4 separate regions of the Homo sapiens genome follow, and regions 1, 2 and 3 are each linked to region 4. The links are contacts of gene promoters, found by promoter capture Hi-C in human tissues and cell types (Jung and others, 2019). All regions are on one chromosome and are shown on one strand. Each heading gives the region's core, a stretch centred on a gene start or on the middle of the fragment in contact. The rest is flanking DNA. Distances are from core to core; before and after follow the strand shown.

Region 1 (4,328 bases), core at 1,486-3,985, 460 kb after region 4:
CCTAAAAATCCCCTGTATTTGGCTGGGTGCAGTGGCTCATGCCTGAAATCCCAGCACTTTGGGAGGCTGAGGCGGGTGAATCAAGAGGTCAGGAGTTCAAGACCAGCCTGACCAATAAGGTGAAACCCTGTCTCTACTAAAAATACAAAAGTTAGCTGGGAGTGGTGGCGCTCATCTGTAGTCCCAGCTACTTGGGAGGCTGAGGCAGAAGGATCGCTGGAACCCAGGAGGTGGAAGTTGCAGTGAGCTGAGACCATGCTATTGCATTCCAGCCTGGGTGACAGAGCGAGACTCTGTCTCAATAAATAAATAAATAGTCCCCCATGGTTAATCTATATTGGTCTTGCTTTTAGCGTCCTCCTCAGTTCTATTCATTTTGTTAATTTATTCTTTTTTATTTTCTGTAAATGGTCATATCATCTGGTTTCAATTCTTTTTCTTATCTTATTGCATTGTCCAGCACCTCCACATAAGCACGAAATATTAGCCATGATTTGAGGCATTCCTGCCTCATTCTTAAATATGTTGTACATCCTGTTTTACCATCTTTTTTGTTTTGTGTGTGTGTGGAGGTGGGGACAGAGTCTTGCTATGTCACCCAGGCTAGAGTGCAATGGCACAATCTGAGCTCACTGCAACCTCTGCCTCCCAGGTTCAAGTGATTCTCCTGCCTCAGCCTCCTGAGTAGCTGGGATTACAGGCACATGCCACCACGCCTGACTAATTTTTGTGTTTTTAGTAGAGGCAGGGTTTCACCATGTTGGCCAGGCTGGTCTCGAACTCCTGACCTCAGGTGATCTGCCTGCCTCTGCCTCCCAAAGGGCTGGGATTACATGTATGAACCACTGCACCCGGCTCTGTTTTACCATCTAACAGGATGCAGGTGATTCCTTTCTAATCACCATCAATGGTGATCAGAACTTTTAAGAAAAATTCTAAGAACTTAAAAAAAAAAAAGGAAAGTGGTTTCTGAATGTTATCTAAAGTTTTTCCATGGTGAAATAATCACGTGGAATTTTTCTCCTTTTATCTTTTCATTGAATAAATGAAGCTTTCTAAAGCTGAACTTTCCTTGTCTCTTTGGAATAAGACCCCGCATACTCCTAGTATAGTGTCTTTTAAAGCACAGCTGAACTCAATTTGCTAATGTTTTATTCAGCATTTTTGCATGCACCAAGAGCCCTGACCTCTTCCTGGCAGCTCAGTACCCTGCAGCTGAGCCGATTCCCATAGGAATCCTGGAACTTCTGCATAAGGTCAACTGGGTGACTTCAACCAAGCAGCTCCAGAGGCCTCCTCCCAGAATCTCCTCTTCCTCTGGGCAACCCTGCTGCCTACCCCAGCACCCCAGGCAGTGCCCTTGCCTCCTGTTCCTCCTCGTCCTCTGAGCCCTGTCTTGCAGCCCTGTTGAATGTTCTCCTAAATGGCTGGGAGGTGGGGCCCCTCCCCTTCAGGTCCACAGGCTTGTCTCTGTCTCCCCTGCTGATCTTGGTATCTGTAGCTTAAGCCAATACTGAGGCCCTGAATTCCTATTCTTTCTGGTACAGCGGGAGAGTTGTCAAGAAGCCAGGTGGAGCAGAAGACAAGACCAGGCAGGAAGCAGGTAAGTTTCCACTGGAATGACTCCACTTGCCTCCTACCGAGGCCCAGGGCTGTGTCAGCTTCAGGTGCAGCTGGCTCCAGGCCCACCTGGGGCACAGCACGGCAAGGATGGAAGGTCTCCCCTACATCCTATTCTCCCCAGAGCCAGGTCTGAGACGGGCTGGGATTGAGGATCATCCCAAAACTGGTGGCTCTCAGGAGGTAGCTCACCTCATGCCACCTACCCCACCAAGATGGAATCTTTTTTTTTTTTTTTTTTTGAGACAGACTCTTGCTCTGTCACCCAGGCTGGAGTGCAGTAGCATATTCTTGGCTCACTGCAACCTCCGTCTCCCGGGTTCAAGCGATTCTCCTGCCTCAGCCTCCCGAGTAGCTGGGATTACAGGCACCCGCCACCACACCCAGCTAATTTTCATATTTTTAGTAGAGACAAGGTTTCGCCATGTTGGCCAGTCTGGTCTTGAACTCCTGACCTCAAGTGATCTGCCCACCTAGGCCTTCCAAAATGCTGGGATTATAGGCGTGAGCCACCACTCCTGGCCTAAGGATGGAATCTTGATGAAATTGCTGTGTGGCCTGCAGCCAGTCGCTGCCCCTCTCTGGGTCATCCACGTTGCTTTCTCCAAGTCCTGACCTGGCAATGGATTGTTCAAGGAGCTGGTCAAATCCACAGTTGCCCCAGCAATGCAGAGCCCTCAAACATGAAAAAAAAAAATCTAGACAGAAAGATTTTTTTTTTTCTTAGAAAAATGAGCCAGGTGCAGTGCCTCACGCCTGTAATCCCACCACTTTGGGAGGTGGGGCGATCATCTGAGCCCAGGAGTTTGAGACCAGCCTGGGCAACATGGTGAAACTGCATCTCTACAAAAAATACAAATATTAGCCTGGTATGGTGATGCATGCCTGTGGTCCCAGCTACACAGGAGGCTGAGGTGGGAGGATCGCCCGAGCCTGGGAAGTTGAGGCTGCAGTGAGTTGTGATCATGCTACTGCACTTCAGCCTGGGTGATGGGAGTGAGACCCTGCCTCAAAAATCTAAAAAAAGAAAAAAAAAGAATATTAGATTACAAAATTCACATTACTGTGGAAATTGCTTTTGCCCTTCCAAAACAAATCATAAAACATGTTTCCTGGTGAATACATACAAATCTTACTAAATCTTCTTTTGAATACATATAAATCTTATTAAATCTTCTTTTAATTTATTTTTTTAAATTTGGCTTTTCTTTTTTCTTTTTAATCACAAAATAATTTCAAGAGCCAATTTGTCCTGGAGGCCTTGTTATGAAAATCTGCAGACCCCTGCGGCTCTCATGTTTGACGAAATCAAGAAAAACATTAACACAATCGTTGCAGAAGGGTGACCAATGCGGTTGCTTTGCGGCTGAGTATTGGTTTTATTTCAAAACACAATGTAAGAGGAACAAACAAAACACACATCCCACTCAACACCACACTTCTGACACCAGATGTGTGGGTTGTCTTTATTTTTTCCACATAGTAAGCAATTCTCCAGTGGACACCAGCTGGGATTCCTCTGATGCAATTTGGTTCCGATGCTATCTACTCGGACACAGCATCAGATCCCGCAGGTTAAGGGCTCAATCCCACAAAACAGCCCGCCTTGAGACACAATGGTCTCTATAGAGTGGGATACCCCACCCTTGCAACCTGCAGATGTGTTCATCAACTCGGAAGCTCTTCAAACCCCATCTTTTGGGGATTTTTATGGGGGCTTCATTATGAAGGCATGATTGATTATTAACTCAGTCCCTAGCCCCTCTCCGGTCTCCAGAGAAAGAGGGTGGGGCTGAAAGCTCCAAGCTTCTAATGATGGCTTGGTCTTGTTGGTCCCCACCCAGGAACCCACCAAGAGTCATCTTTTTAGAACCAAAGACGCTCCTATCACCCAGGAAACTCTAGGGGATTTAGGAGCTCTATGTCAGACACTCCCATCACTCTGTCAGGAACTGGGGTCAAAAGACCAAATATTTATTTATTTATTTATTTATTATTATTTTGAGACGGAGTCTCGTTCTGTTGTCAGGCTGGAGCGCAGTGGTGCGATCTCAGCTCACTGCAGCCTCCGCCTCCTGGGTTCAAGCGATTCTCCTGCCTCAGCCTACCGAGTAGCTGGGACTACAGGTGTGCGCCACAGGCCTGGCTAATGTTTGTATTTTTAGTAGAGATGAGGTTTTGTTATGTTGGCCACCCTGGTCTCAAACTCCTGGCCTCAAGTGATCTGCCCACTTCCACCTCCCAAAGTGCTGGGATTACAGGCATGAGCCACCCTGCCCAGACTATTTATTTTTATTTTTAAACTTTTCTTTAGAAAAAGAATCTTGCTGTGTTGCCCAGGGTGGAGTGCAGTGGGGAGATGTTGATTCACTGCAGCCTCAAACTCTCAGGCTCAATCAATCCTCCCACCTCAGCCTCCCGAGTAGCTGGGACTATAGGCACACACCACCATGCCCAGCTAATTTTTTATCTTTTGTAGAGACAGCAACTCACTAAGTTGCCCAGGCTGGTCTTGAACTCCTGGGCTGAAGCAATCCTCCTGCTTCAGCCTCCCAAAGTGCTGGGATTATAGGCATGAGCCACCACACCCAGCCCCATGCCCTGTTTTTCACTGGTGCATATTTTCTACCAGAAATGAGAGTTTTAGGTATGAATGAAGACTAGTCTGTGTGAAAACCTGTAATTGTGCTTTTGAAAAAAGATCTCCA
Region 2 (4,132 bases), core at 890-3,389, 420 kb before region 4:
AAGTTGCAGCTGTTTCCAGCTGTTGGGATGCTTGCCAGCCATTCACTGTCACACCTGACCCACCCCTAGCATCTGGGCCAACACTGCTTCTCATCCTGCTGGTCTCAGAAGGTCCCAGATTGGGGAAAGGGATGTCTGGGTCAGTGTAGACAGAATTGCTCTTACAACTGCAAACTGTGCTGCTTTCTGGGATCAGAGATTCCTCACACAAAAATCTCTCAGGTGACAGAAGTGGGCATCCAGAGCTATTCCTAAGACGAGATCCTTTGGGCTGGGTGAACCATGCCCCTGGCTTAGAGGCCAGCTAATCTGGAATCCCAGGTCGGTCATTTGGGGACATCTCTTCCCCAGTGTGTCTCTCAGCACAGGGATTCCATGTCACTTAACAGATGGTAAGATCACAGGGTGACTTTAGTCAGAGGAAAACGCCCTGGAGAACTGTTTAAAACTCTCTAACGGGCCAGGCACGGTGACTCACGCCTCTAATCCCAGCACTTTGGGAGGCGGAGGTGGGTGGATCACCTGAGGTCAGGAGTTCCAGAACAGCCTGGCTAACATGGAGAAACCCCATCTCTATTAAAAATACAAAAAATTAGCCGGGTGTGGTGGCACACGCCTGTAATCCCAGCTACTCAGGAGGCTGAGGCAGGAGAGTCATTTGAACCTGGGAGGCGGAGGTTGCAGTAAGCCAAGATCGTGCCATTGCACTCCAGCCTGGGCAACAAGAGTAAAACTCCATCTCAAAACAAAAACAAAAACAAACCCCAAAAACAACAAACAACAAACAAAAACCTCTGTATAAGGCAGGGTCTCTCATTGGAGCCAAGGTCTGTCATGTGGGGCCGCGTCATTCCTTGCAGTGGAAGCTGACCTGCACATCGAAAGCTGTTTACCAGCATTCCTGGCCTGCACCCACTTAATGCCAACACCAAATGCCTCTCCCTATTTGTGACAACCAAAAATACCTCCAGACATTTCCCAGCGGCCTCAGGGAGACAAAAATCCCCCCCAGGGCTGAGAACCACTATTCTAAGGGATGCCAGCTTTGAAAGAAGCATTAGGATGAAAATTTGTAGGGTTCCGATTTCACGAAGCCTAGGAGAGGGAAGTCTGGATGCTCAGAGCGCAGTAGACTGTCTTGCTTTTAAAACTGTGACCAGCAAGGACCAACTACTCACTGCAAATAACGACACCCACCTAGTCTCACTGCTTACCAGTTTTCTGGAAACTCCTAAACAAGGGCTGCTTGAACAAGCCGCCTTCTAAACGCCCAGCTGGACTAAAAGGCTGGTCTTGTGCAGACCAGGGCAGCCCCCCTGAACCCGCAGCCCTGCAGAGCTCACCCGAACTTGCCAGGTTTAGAAATATTCTCTGTGAAGCCAACTTAGCAGTACTCCCCAGCAGTTAGTTAATTCACCTTCTCCCCGCTGTCAACCCACCAGAAGCCTGCAAGCAAACCTCTAGAAAAATGTAGAAGCAAAACAAACACTTCCTCCTCCCTCACCACGCCCACCCACGGGAAAGTGCCCCTTCGCACTCTCCTCCCACTTCTCAGCCAAGACGCTCCTCTTACCTTCATACCTTGGACAACTGGAAATCGCCACCCATGATGACAGCCCGGGTCACACGAAGGGGGCGAGGTGGGGCGGGGGGAGCTGACCTCAGCACCTTTAGCTTTTGGGAGTCCCTGTACCTCCACAGAGCCACTTCGGAAACTTTAGGGCGCCCCCTCCTCAAGACGATTCGGGAACAAGAGGCCAGGTCCAGCCCAGCGCGGAGGCTGTGTGGCCTTGGGCAGGTCGCTGCAACACTCTGAGCCAGTACCCGCGACCCCCACCCCAGAAGGCGACCGACCTCCTCTGTCGCCGGAGGATACTCACGGGGCCTGAGGCTGCGCGGCGCGCACGCCGTCCCGCGCCGACAGCAGCAGGAGCAGGAGCGGGAGCAACGGCCAGAGCAGGGCGCCGCTCATTTTTCGGCTCCTGGGGGGCGCCGCGCCTGGGGAGGGGGCCGGGCCAGGGCTGGGCCAGGGCCAGGGTCCGAGCGCGGCCGTCCTCGCGCCGCCGCCGGGGGCCCTTTGTTCGCAGCCCCCGCGCAGTGCGCCCGGCGCCATGCGCCCCGCTCCGCGCCCGGCCAAGCTGGGGCAGCCCCGGGCCAGCCCCCTCCCCGGACCCGCCTCGTCTCCGGGACCGCCCCGCTCGCCCCGCTCGCCCCGCTCCTGGGCGCACCCTCCCGGGACGCCTGCTCCGCCCATCTCCGGACCCCGACCCGCCCCGATCCCTTCCGGGGATCGTCCCCTCACTTACTCACCGGACCCACCCGGGCCCTGCCCGATTCCTTCCGAACCCGCCTCCTCACCCCCTACCCGGATTCGCCCCCGGATGCCCCCCTCCCCACCAGCCCCGCCTCGGACCCGACCCCCCACCGCCCCCACTCTCCCTCTCCTCTCCACCCAGCGTCCACTCGGAACCTGTCCCTTCCCTGGCCTCTCCCTCCCTCCCTCCCCAGCCAGCCCCTTATGGCCCCCTCCCCGGGCCCGCCCCTCACCAGGGGCCCCTGGGTCTGGACGCCGCCTGCAACCCCGATCCCACAGGCGCCGCCGTGCCCTAAGCCCTGGCCTGTATCTAGTGCCCAGTGCAGTGCGTACAGCCCAAGGAGCAGAGGACCCTTTGGGGAAACAGTCTAGCCAGGGGTCGAACCTCCCAGACTCACATCTGCCCCAGGTCCCTATCTGTGCTCTCTGCTCCCCTCTCCCCCACCCCCACTGTCCACAAATCCCTTGGGCCCGTCCCCTCTCTCGCTGGGCCTCAGAGTCCCCCTTTCCCCTTCATACAGCAGGGGTGGATGGGCACCCCCTTTCTCTCCAAGAGCAGGGTGTCCCCTCCTGCCCCTCCCCGTGTGGCCACCTCAGTGATGGTCCTGCTGTCCTAGGTCCCACTGGCAGGCGGCACATCCTATACCATGTCCAAGTCCTGGACCCCCTCCTTCCAGTGTGGAACCCCCTTCCCCCAGCTACCAACTGCCCTTCTTCTAAAATTCCAGTGCTGACCACACCCCCTCCTGCCCGGAATCCTCGGGGCTCCCTGTTTATTTTACATTTTATTTTTATGTTTTGAGACCAGAGTTTTGCTCTGTTGCCCAGGCAGGAATTTAGTGGTGCAGTCACAGCTCACTGCAGCTTCAGACTCCTGGAGAGTAGCTGGGACTACAGGTGCAAGCCCGCACCCAGCTAATTTTTATATATTTTTTTTTAGAAACGGAGTCGCACTGTGTTGCCCAGGCTGGTCTTGAGCACTGGGCTCAAATGATCCTCCCTCCTCAGCCTCCCAAAGTGCTGGGATTACAGGTGTGAGCCACCACATCCAGCCAGGGCTTCCCGTTTATTGAGACCAAATCTAAACTCTGGCTTTGATGGCAGAGACCTCAGCCTAGTTCCTCCAACACCCTGTTCTTACTCCACTGCCTGCTTCTGCCTAATCTCTGTCTTCCTCTACCTGCCTCCTTTGCCAGTCCAACTCCTGATCCTTCCAGGAAACTCAAGGGAAGCTTCTCTTGCCCCCTCCCTGCCCCTAGGGATGTGGGTCCTCTGGGGGCTTCTCAGCCCTGTCAACAGCCTTTGGACCCAACACTGATCACCCAGGCAGCACCAAGCCCTGGGCTGGGCAATGAGGACCCTGGGACATACAGGACCTGCTGCCACTGAGCACACAACCCAGAGGGGACGTAACTGATGATGGTGTGTTGGTGTGTGTGTGTGCGTGCACGCGCGCAGGGGCCGGAGTAGATTGAGTAGCCGTCTCTCCTGCCTGGAGAAGAGGAGGAGCTGCCTGCCTCCAAGCTCAGACCAGGCCAACCCCAAACAGGCTGCTAAACTCACATGGAGGTGCAAAAATCTAGCACCAAGAAGCAGCATCTGATCTCACCCTCATCATCGAAGTTTGCCCCATGCCACCCCTCCGGGCCCCTCCAGGCCAACTCTGACTCCTACCTAAGCCAACCTCCACTCCTCAGCCTCCAGGCCAGCCTTTGAGCCCTCCGCCTCCCCCTTGACCATTGGGCTCTGGCCACATTTGCTCCTGAGATACATCAGACCCCCACCCACCACCACCATCTTGGGCCAAGGTGCCAGCTG
Region 3 (4,466 bases), core at 539-3,038, 510 kb after region 4:
CACGGAGGAGATAATTTTTACTCCGACGCAGCAACCCGCTGAGTGACCTTGGACAAGGCCCTGCCCTCCCAAGGCTAGGGTCAGCACCAAGTCCCCCTGGCTGGAACAGGTGGCCCCTGAGCCATCCAAGGTGACCATTGCCCCGATCCCAGGTCCTGGTGAGAGAAAGGGCAGCTGGGGGTTTCCCCTTCAGTCCTGTTCTGGGGTCTGGCATTGCCCCTGCCCTCCATGGGGTGTCCTTTTCTGCCCTCTTCTCCAGGATCGGACTTGGGTACCATGTGCTTCTATAAGCCCTCTGCAGACAGCACTAAATAGATGGAGGGAGCACGCCAAGGGAGCTACAGGCTCCCAGGGCAGCTTCAGAGCTGGGGAGCAAGAGTTCAGCTGCTCTGCCAAGCGAGGTGGTTCACAACTGTAATCCCAACACTTTGGAAGGGCGAGGCAAGCTCAGGAGTTCGAGACCAGCCTGGGCAACGTACTGAAACCCTGTCTCTACAAAAAATTAAAAAAATTAGCCAGGTGTAGTGGTGCACACTTGTAGTCCAAGCTACTTGGGGGCCGAAGGTGGGAGGATCGCTTGAGCCCGGGAAGTCAAGGCTGCAGTGAGCCATGTTCATGCGACTGCACTCCAGCCTGGGTGACAAAATGTCACCTCCCTGAATGTCACCCACCTAGATCTCCCCATGGCGAAGGAACTAGGGGCAATGTGAGGGGGTGAGCAGGAACAGCATTGGGAAAGACAGATAAAGCATTCAGTGTCTAGCTTCTGGAGCCCAGTGAAAGGAGGAGTGGCCTTAGGGAGGGGACATGGAAGAGGTGGGGCTAGCCCAGGGCCCCATTGGAGTGATAAAGCCACTGTTCTTAAGCTTCCTGAAAGCTTAGGAGATGACCCAGCTCAGCAACACCAAGCCAGAGCGCAGATCTGCTGTAAAGACCATTGTACGTAATAGGCTGAAGCAGGTGAATCACCTCTGGCCAGGAGTTCAAGTCCAGCCTGGCCAACACAGCAAAACCCCATCTCTACTAAAAATACAAAAAGTAGCCGGGCATGGTGGCAGGCACCTGTAATCCCAGATGCTTGGGAGGCTGAGGCAGGAGAATTGTTTGAACCCTGGAGGCGGCAGTTGCAGTGAGCTGAGATCACATCACTACACTCCAGCCTGGGTGACAGAGCAAGACTCTGTCTCAAAAAAATAAAAAATAAGAAAGACCACTGTAGTCCGGGAGCTGTCTGCACCCTACTCTTTTGGGTCCCCGCCTCCACCCCGCACCCCCTGTCTGATCATTACAGATCTCAAAGGGACAGGAAAGGCAGCAGCAGCCACCCTCTCTCCCAGTCAAGTGGTCACCAGCAGGACTGAAGGGGACAGCCCCTTTGCAGTGGCTCGGCGAGGAGACCCCTGCACCCTAGGGTGAGTGAATCCCAGACTTGGGTCGCCTTTGGGGGTGGGGGTGGCTCAGGGGTTGGATAGAAAAATTGGTAACTGGGCAGGCTAGGTGGCTCACGCCTGTAATCCCAGCACTTTGGGAGGCTGAGGCAGGTGGATCACTTGAGGTCAGGAGTTTGAGGCCAGTTTGGCCGACATGGCGAAACCCCGTGTCTACTAAAAATACAAAAATTGCCCGGGGATGGTGGTGGGCACCTGCAATCCTAGCTACTTGGGAGGCTGAGGCAGGAGGACCACTTGAATCCGGGAGGCAGAGGTTGCAGTGAGCCAAGATCGCGCCACTGCACTCCAGCCTGGGCGACAGAGCAAAGCTCTGTTTCAAAAAAAAAAAAAAAAAGGTGACCTGAGGAAAAAGTGCCAGCTTTTGAAATAATAACAAGCTGGGTACAGTGGCGTGCACCTGTGGTCCTAGCTACTCGGAAGGCTAAGGTGGGAGTATCGAGTCCAGGAGTTCGAGGCTGCAGTGAGCTATGATCACGCTTGTGAATGGCCACTGCACTCCAGCCTAGGCGACAGAGCGAGACCCCCATCTCTTTAATTAAAAAAAAAAAAAAGAAAAAAGGCCAGACGTGGTGGCTTACGCTTGTAATCCCAGCACTTTGGGAGGCCAAGGCAGGCAGATCACCTGAGGTCAGGAGTTCGAGACCAGCCTGGCCAACAGGGTGAAACCCCCATCTCTACTAAAAATACAAAATTAGCCAGGCATGGTGCTGCATGCCTGTAATCCCAGCTACTTGGGAGGCTAAGGCAGGAGAATCACTTGAACCCAGGAGGCGGAAGTTGCAGTGAGCCGAGATTGTGCCATTGCACTCCAGCCTGGGCAACAAGAGTGAAACTCCATCTCCAAAAAAAAAAAAAAAAAGAAAGAAAGAAAAAAAATAATAATATAATTATTATTATATCATATATATCATGATGATGATAGCAAGGACTATGCTTTCTAGAGCCTCCGGGGAGTTACTGTCCACTTTCTTTGATCACTGGAGTTGGGGAAACTATTCAGAGAGGCCAGATGACCTAGAAGTGGGGTGTTGAGCCAGGTTGGAAGAGCTCTGTCCCACCACTCCCGCCCCCGCCCCCCACACACAGCCTCTACTTCCCGGCTCTCGTGGTCTCGCTGGAGACAGCCCCCAGGGTAGGCCAGCTCTGTGGAAGGCAGCTCCTGTGCTCCTTTCTCCAGTGAACTTTTTTTTTTTAGTTTTGTTTTGTTTTGTTTTGTTTGTTTGTTTTGAGACAGAGTCTGACTCTGTCGCCCAGGCTGGAGCGCAGTGGCATGATCTTGGCTCACTGCAACCTCCACCCTCCACCCCACCGGGTTCAAGCGATTCTCCTGCTTCAGCCTCCCAAGTAGCTGGGATTACAGGCATGCGTCACCACGCACAGCTAATTTTTGTGTTTTCAGTAGAGATGGGGTTTCCCCATGTTGGCCGGGCTGGTCTCGAACTCCTGACCTCAGGTGATCCACCTGTCTTGGCCTCCCAAAGTGCTGGGATTGCAGGCGTGAGCCACTGAGCCAGGCCTCCTTGGTGAACACTGACTGACATCCAGGGTCAGCACTAAGCTGCCCATGGGGGTGTGGAGAAAACAGAGGTGGTGGTCATTTAGTCAATCAACAAACACTGAGCAAGCTAGCTACTGTCTGCCAGGCCCTAGGCTGGATGCTGGGATGCAATAAGGACAAAGGCCAGCCCAGGTCAGCCCTTGTGGAATTTCATGGGGCATCAATTAAGCTTAAGTGTTTTGTGCTGGATACAGTGGCTGATGCCTGTGATCCCAGAACTTTGGGAGGCCAAGACAGGAGGATCACTTGAGCTCAGGAGCTTGAGACCAGCCTGGGCAATGTAGCAAGAACCCATCTCTACAATTTTTTTTTTTTTAAATTAACCAGTGGGGTGGTGCATGTGTGTGGTCCCAGCTACTCTGGAGGCTGAGATGGGGGGATCACTTGAGCCCAAGAGGTCGAGGATACAGTGGGCTATGATTGAACCACTGTACTGTAGTCTGGGTGACAGTGAGACTCTGTCTCAGAAAGAAAGCGAGAAAGAGAGAAAGGGGGCCAGGTGTGGTGGCTCATGCCTGTAATCCCAGCACTTTGGGAGGCCGAGGTGGGCGGATAATGAGGTCTGGGGATAGAGACCATCCTGCATGGTGAAACCCCGTCTCTACTAAATACAAAAAATTAGCCAGGGGTGATGTCGGGAGTGCCTGTAATCCTAGCTACTCAGGAGGCTGAGGCAGGCAGGAGAATCGCTTGAACCAGGGAGTTGGAGGTTGCAGTGAGCCGAAATTGCAGCACTGCACTCCAGCCTGGCGACAAAGCGAGACTGTCTCAAAAAACAAAACAAAACAAAACAAAAAAACAAAAAACAGAGAAAGGGAGGGAGGGAGGGACAGAGGGAGGGAGGAAGGAAGGAAGGAAAGGATGGAGGGAGAGAGAGAAAAAAAGGAGAGGAGAGGGGAGGAGAGGAGAGGGGAGGAGAGGGGAGGAGAGGAGAGGGGAGGGGAGGGGAGGGGATGGTGGGGAAGGGGAAAGGGAAAGGGAAAGGGGAAAGGGAAAGGGAGAAGAGAGAGAGGGAGGGTAGGAGGGAGGGAGAGAGAAAAAAAGAAGGAAGGAAAGAAGGAAGGAAGAAAAGAAAGAAGAAAGAGGAAGGGAGGGAGGGAAGGAAGAAAATTGTTTTGTATTAGGAAGAAAATAGAATATGAGGATGTATTAGTGACCAGAGGAGCAGGGAAGCCTCTTGTAAAAGTCAGAGAGGCCTCTCTAGGGCAGTGATCATGAGCTGAGACTTGAAGGAAGAGGAGGAACTGGCCTGCTGACAGCTGGGGGAACAGCATACCCAGCAGAGGGAACCACATGTGCAAAGGTCCTGAGGTGGGAATGAGCTTGGCGTGTTTGAGGAACAGTGAGGAGGCTGCTGTGGCTGGAACAGAGTGAGTGGGAGAGAGGAGGAAGATGAAGGCAAGATCGGCAGGTAGGAGCCAAGCTACAAGGAACTCAGCGGCTGCAGTGAGGGTGTG
Region 4 (3,989 bases), core at 46-2,545:
ACTTGGTCCCCGCTGTCTCTGATGCCCTGAGCCAGATCCATTCCCCTGCAGGCAGGCACCCAACAGATGTTTGCTGACCCGTGGGACCCATGCATTTCATTGTCCCTTGGGTGGAAGGTGCATGGTCTGGATAGGATCTACCTCAATGGTGGGAGTTCTCATCTGCTCAATTTCACAGAATTCTGGACTAGAATTTGGGCTCCTCTCCCCCGACATTCTGGAGAGAAACACTACCATGTGGGACAGCGGAGTCCTCAGCTCAAGGAGGGTTCCTCCTTCCACAACCACTGCCCCTGATAGGGGTCCCTCAATGACCACATCCCTGACTGAGTTCAGGTCCCTGAGGAAGGAACTCAATTTCAGACCAGGACACAGGCTCTGGCTGGCTCTACCCAGAACCAAGTTCAAGTCCAGCACTGTCCCGCCTCCCACCCACTTCCAAGCCAGACAGCCTGAGAGCTCAGCCTCCCCTGTTTGAGATCCAGGCAAGCTGATCCTGGACCCTCTTTGAGCCTCAGTTTCCTCATCTGCAAAATGCGAGACACAGCAGTGGTTGCACCTGCTGCAAAATTGAACAAATATAGAATGGAGGGAGGGAAGGAGGGAGGAGGAGAGGAAAGGAGGGAGGCAGAGAGACATGGAGTGGTGGGGAGAGGGAAGTGGGGAGGGAAGCTGTCCCCCCAGCCTGAGGCCAAAAGAGGGGAAGAGGCTCAACCAGGCTCACCCAGCCCCCAGCCGGGCCTCCGAGGCGGTGAGGCCAGTCCTCCTACCTCCTGGGGCCAGGCCCCCGCGCCAGCTCGGCGCCCAGGTGGCCACAGAGCGCGGCGAGCAGCAAGCAGGTGAACCCCAGCACGAGCACCAGCGCGGCCAGCGCGGCGGCCAGCGGCAGCAGCGTCCCGGCCGCGTCCTCTGGCAGCCCGGGGCCGGCGCCCAGCTCCTGGCCCAGCCCCTCGGCGCGCAGCCCCCGCAGCTCGGCGCGGCCCGCCTGCAGCTGAAACAGCAGCTGCGCGCCCAGCGCCGCCAGCACGGCCGCCGCGATGCCCAGCAGGGTCATTGCAGCCAGCACCCGGCCGCCGTAAGAACGGGCCATGGCGGGGGTTCCTGCGGGCCGGGGGAAGAGTTGAGGAATTGAAGTGGTTTTAGAGGGCAGGGGAGTTGGGGGGAATCCGAGGGTCCTCAGGGGGTCCCCGAGGGGGCGGGGCCGCAGGGAGTGTCTGAAAGTTCGGGGACTGGGCTGGGGGTCGCCAGACGGACGGGGGCTCCGGGGTGCTGGTCGCAGCCGGGACGCCGAATCTCCGCGAAAACTTGGGACAAAGTCTTTTCTCCTCCCTCCCGGGGCCCCGCGGGCGCCCCCTCTTGGTCCGCTGGGCCTGGCGGGGCGGGGCCTGGCACCGGGCGCAGGGCGGGGAGGCCCCACTAGGGACTGGATCGCGGGAACCCCACAGCTCGCTAAGTTCAGAAAAGGGCACCACCCCGCCCCCTGCCGCCCTAAGCATCGATTGTATTGTGGTTTAAAACAAGAAAAAGGAGGCCGGGGGCGGTGGCTCTCGCCTGTAATCCCAGCACCTTGGGAGGCCGAGGCGGGCGGATCACAAGGTCAAGAGTTCCAGACCAGCCTGGCCAATATGGTGAAACCCCGTCTCTACTAAAAATACAAAAATTAGCCGGGCGTGGTGGCCGGAGCCTGTAATCCCAGCTACTCGGGAGGCTGATGCAGGAGAATTGCTTGAACCCAGGAGGCGGAGGTTTCAGTGAGCTGAGATTACGCCATTGCACTGCAGCCTGGGCGACAGAGCGAGACTCCGTCTCAAAATTAATTAATTAATTAATTAAAAAATAAAAAATAAAGAGAAAGGAGGCCGGGCGCGGTGGCTCTCGCTTGTAATCTCAGCACTTTAGGAGTCCGAGGTGGGCGGATCACTTGAGGTCAGGAGTTCAAGACCAGCCTGGCCAACATGGTGAAACCCCCGTCTCTACTAAAAAAAAAAAAAAAAAAAAAAATTAGCCCGGCGTAGTGGTGCATGGCCTGTAATCCTAGCTACTCGGGAGGCTGAGGTTGGAGGAATGCTTGAATCAGGGAGGCGGAGGTTGCAGTGAGCCGAGATTGCACCACTGCACACTCCAGCCTGGCTGACAGAGTAAGACTCCATCAAAAAAAAAAAAAAAAAAAAAGAGAGAGAGAGAGAAAGGGCTGGGTGAGGTGGTTCACAACTGTAATCCCAGCACTTTGGGAGGCTGAGGCAGGAGGATGGCTTAAGCCCAGGAGTTTGAGACCAGCCTGGGCAACATAGCCAGACCCCATCTCTACAAAAAATAAGGAAGTCAGCCTGGTGTGGTGGTGCACGCCTGTGGACCCAGCTACTTTCGGGACTGAGACAGGAGGATCGCTTGAGCCCAGGAGGTCGAGGCTGCAGTGAACTGAGATCACGCCACTGCACTCCAGCCTGAGTGACAGAGCGAGGCTGTGTCTCAAAAAAGAAATAACAAAATTTAAAAATTCACTTTTCATTTGATCTCAACCCAGGGACTCTGTCATTGGCTGTGATTTCCCCTCTGCTTACTTCCTTCAAGCCTTTGGGTAACCGTTGCTTCCTCTAGGAGGCTAGGGAGAATCCTGGATCCCTTCCCCAACTGGTCCCCCAAATTATTCGCACAGCACTTTAAAAAAATCGAGATGAAACTTACATAACATAAAATTAATCATTTTATTCAGTGGCATTTAGTGTTGTACAATCATTACCTCTGTCTAGCTCCAGAAGATTTTCATCCCCCCAAAAGGAGACCCCATCCCCATTACCAGCCACTCCCCATTCCCCCTCCTCAAGTGGCTCACAACCATTAATCTACTTCTTGTCTCTGTCGATTTGCCTGTTCTGGACACTTCATATCAATGGAGTCATACAAGAGGTGGCATTCTGGCTTCTCTCACTCTGCATGATGTACTCAAGGTTCATCGAGGTTGTAGCATGGATCAGTGCCTCATTCCTTTTTATGGCTGCGTAATATTCCATAGCGTGTCTGGAACACATTGTGTTCATCCGTTCATCCATTGATGGGTATTTGTGTTGTTGGTTCCTTTTGGTGAAGGTGACTAATGCTGCTATAAACATGTGTGCACAGGTATCTTCTTGAGTCACTGCTGTCAATTCTTGTGGGGCGTGGACTCCTAGGAGTGGAGTTGCTGAGTCACATAGTTACTCTATTTTAACTCTTTGTGGAACCCTCAAACTTTTCCACAGCAGCTGCACCGTTTTCCATTTCCACCAGCAATGTCTGAGGTTTTTAAAAATAATTTTCTGCACATCCTCCCCAACACGTGTTTCCTCCTGCCCTCCTCCTCCTCCTCTTCCTTCTCCTCCTCCTCCTCCCTTCCTTCTCCTCCTCCTCCTTTCTTCCTCCTCCTCGTCTCCTCCTCCTCCTTCTTCTTTTTTTTTTTATCAGGGCCTTGCTCTGTCACCCAGGCTGGATTGCAGTGGTGTGATCATAGCTCATTACAGCCTTGACCTCCTGCTCAAGTGATCTTTCTGCCTCAGCCTCTCCCCAAGTAGCTGGGACCACAGGCAAGCATCAGCATGCCTGGCTAATTTTTAAGTTTTTTTTTTTTTTTCATAGAGATGGGGTCTTGTTATGTTGGTCTGGTCTCAAACTCTTTATACCCAAGTGATTCTCTCACCTCAGTCCCCCTAAATGCTGGGATTACAGGAGTGAGCCACCACACCCAGCCTCCTCCTTCCTCATAATAGCCTTTTTTTTTTTTTTTTTTTTTGAGATGAACTCTCACTCTGTTGCCCAGACTGGAGTGCAGTGGTGAGATCTCGGCTCACTGCAACCTCCACCTCCCGGGTTCAAGCGATTCTTGCACCTCAGCTTCCCAAGTAGCAGGATTACAGGTGCCTACCACCACACTCAGCTAATTTTTGTATTTTTAGTAGAAACAGGGTTTCACCATGTTGGCCAGGCTGGTCTCAAACTCCTGCCTCAAGTGATCC

What was found. The method cuts DNA at HindIII sites, captures the fragments that hold promoters and counts their contacts. A contact is called where the count stands out against the background at its distance.
Region 1: a contact is called between a fragment that was not itself captured here and the fragment with the promoter of TMEM221 in region 4, in 3 of the 25 tissues and cell types used here (hippocampus, lymphoblastoid cells and spleen).
Region 2: a contact is called between the fragment with the promoter of CPAMD8 here and the fragment with the promoter of TMEM221 in region 4, in 1 of the 25 tissues and cell types used here (lymphoblastoid cells).
Region 3: a fragment that was not itself captured here is called in contact with the fragment with the promoter of TMEM221 in region 4 in 7 of the 25 tissues and cell types used here (aorta, bladder, dorsolateral prefrontal cortex and 4 more).

Annotation. Positions count from the first base shown.
Region 1 is chr19:17,907,971-17,912,298 of GRCh38, forward strand. No RefSeq gene overlaps it. Among named protein-coding and RNA genes, the nearest start is that of CCDC124, 23 kb to the right of the region's middle. The HindIII fragment of the contact is 5,842 bases long and covers 1-4,328 here.
Region 2 is chr19:17,024,671-17,028,802 of GRCh38, forward strand. CPAMD8 (C3 and PZP like alpha-2-macroglobulin domain containing 8) reads right to left here and starts at 2,140. Exons shown (of 42, transcript NM_015692.5): 1 at 1,881-2,140. The coding sequence starts at 1,972. RefSeq lists an enhancer at 2,312-3,220. The HindIII fragment of the contact is 4,679 bases long and covers 121-4,132 here.
Region 3 is chr19:17,953,270-17,957,735 of GRCh38, forward strand. It overlaps a transcript of KCNN1 not described here. Among named protein-coding and RNA genes, the nearest start is that of KCNN1, 12 kb to the right of the region's middle. The HindIII fragment of the contact is 4,437 bases long and covers 1-4,007 here.
Region 4 is chr19:17,447,373-17,451,361 of GRCh38, forward strand. TMEM221 (transmembrane protein 221) reads right to left here and starts at 1,296. Exons shown (of 3, transcript NM_001190844.2): 1 at 771-1,296. The coding sequence starts at 1,090. RefSeq lists a silencer at 1,310-1,429. The HindIII fragment of the contact is 11,612 bases long and covers 1-3,989 here.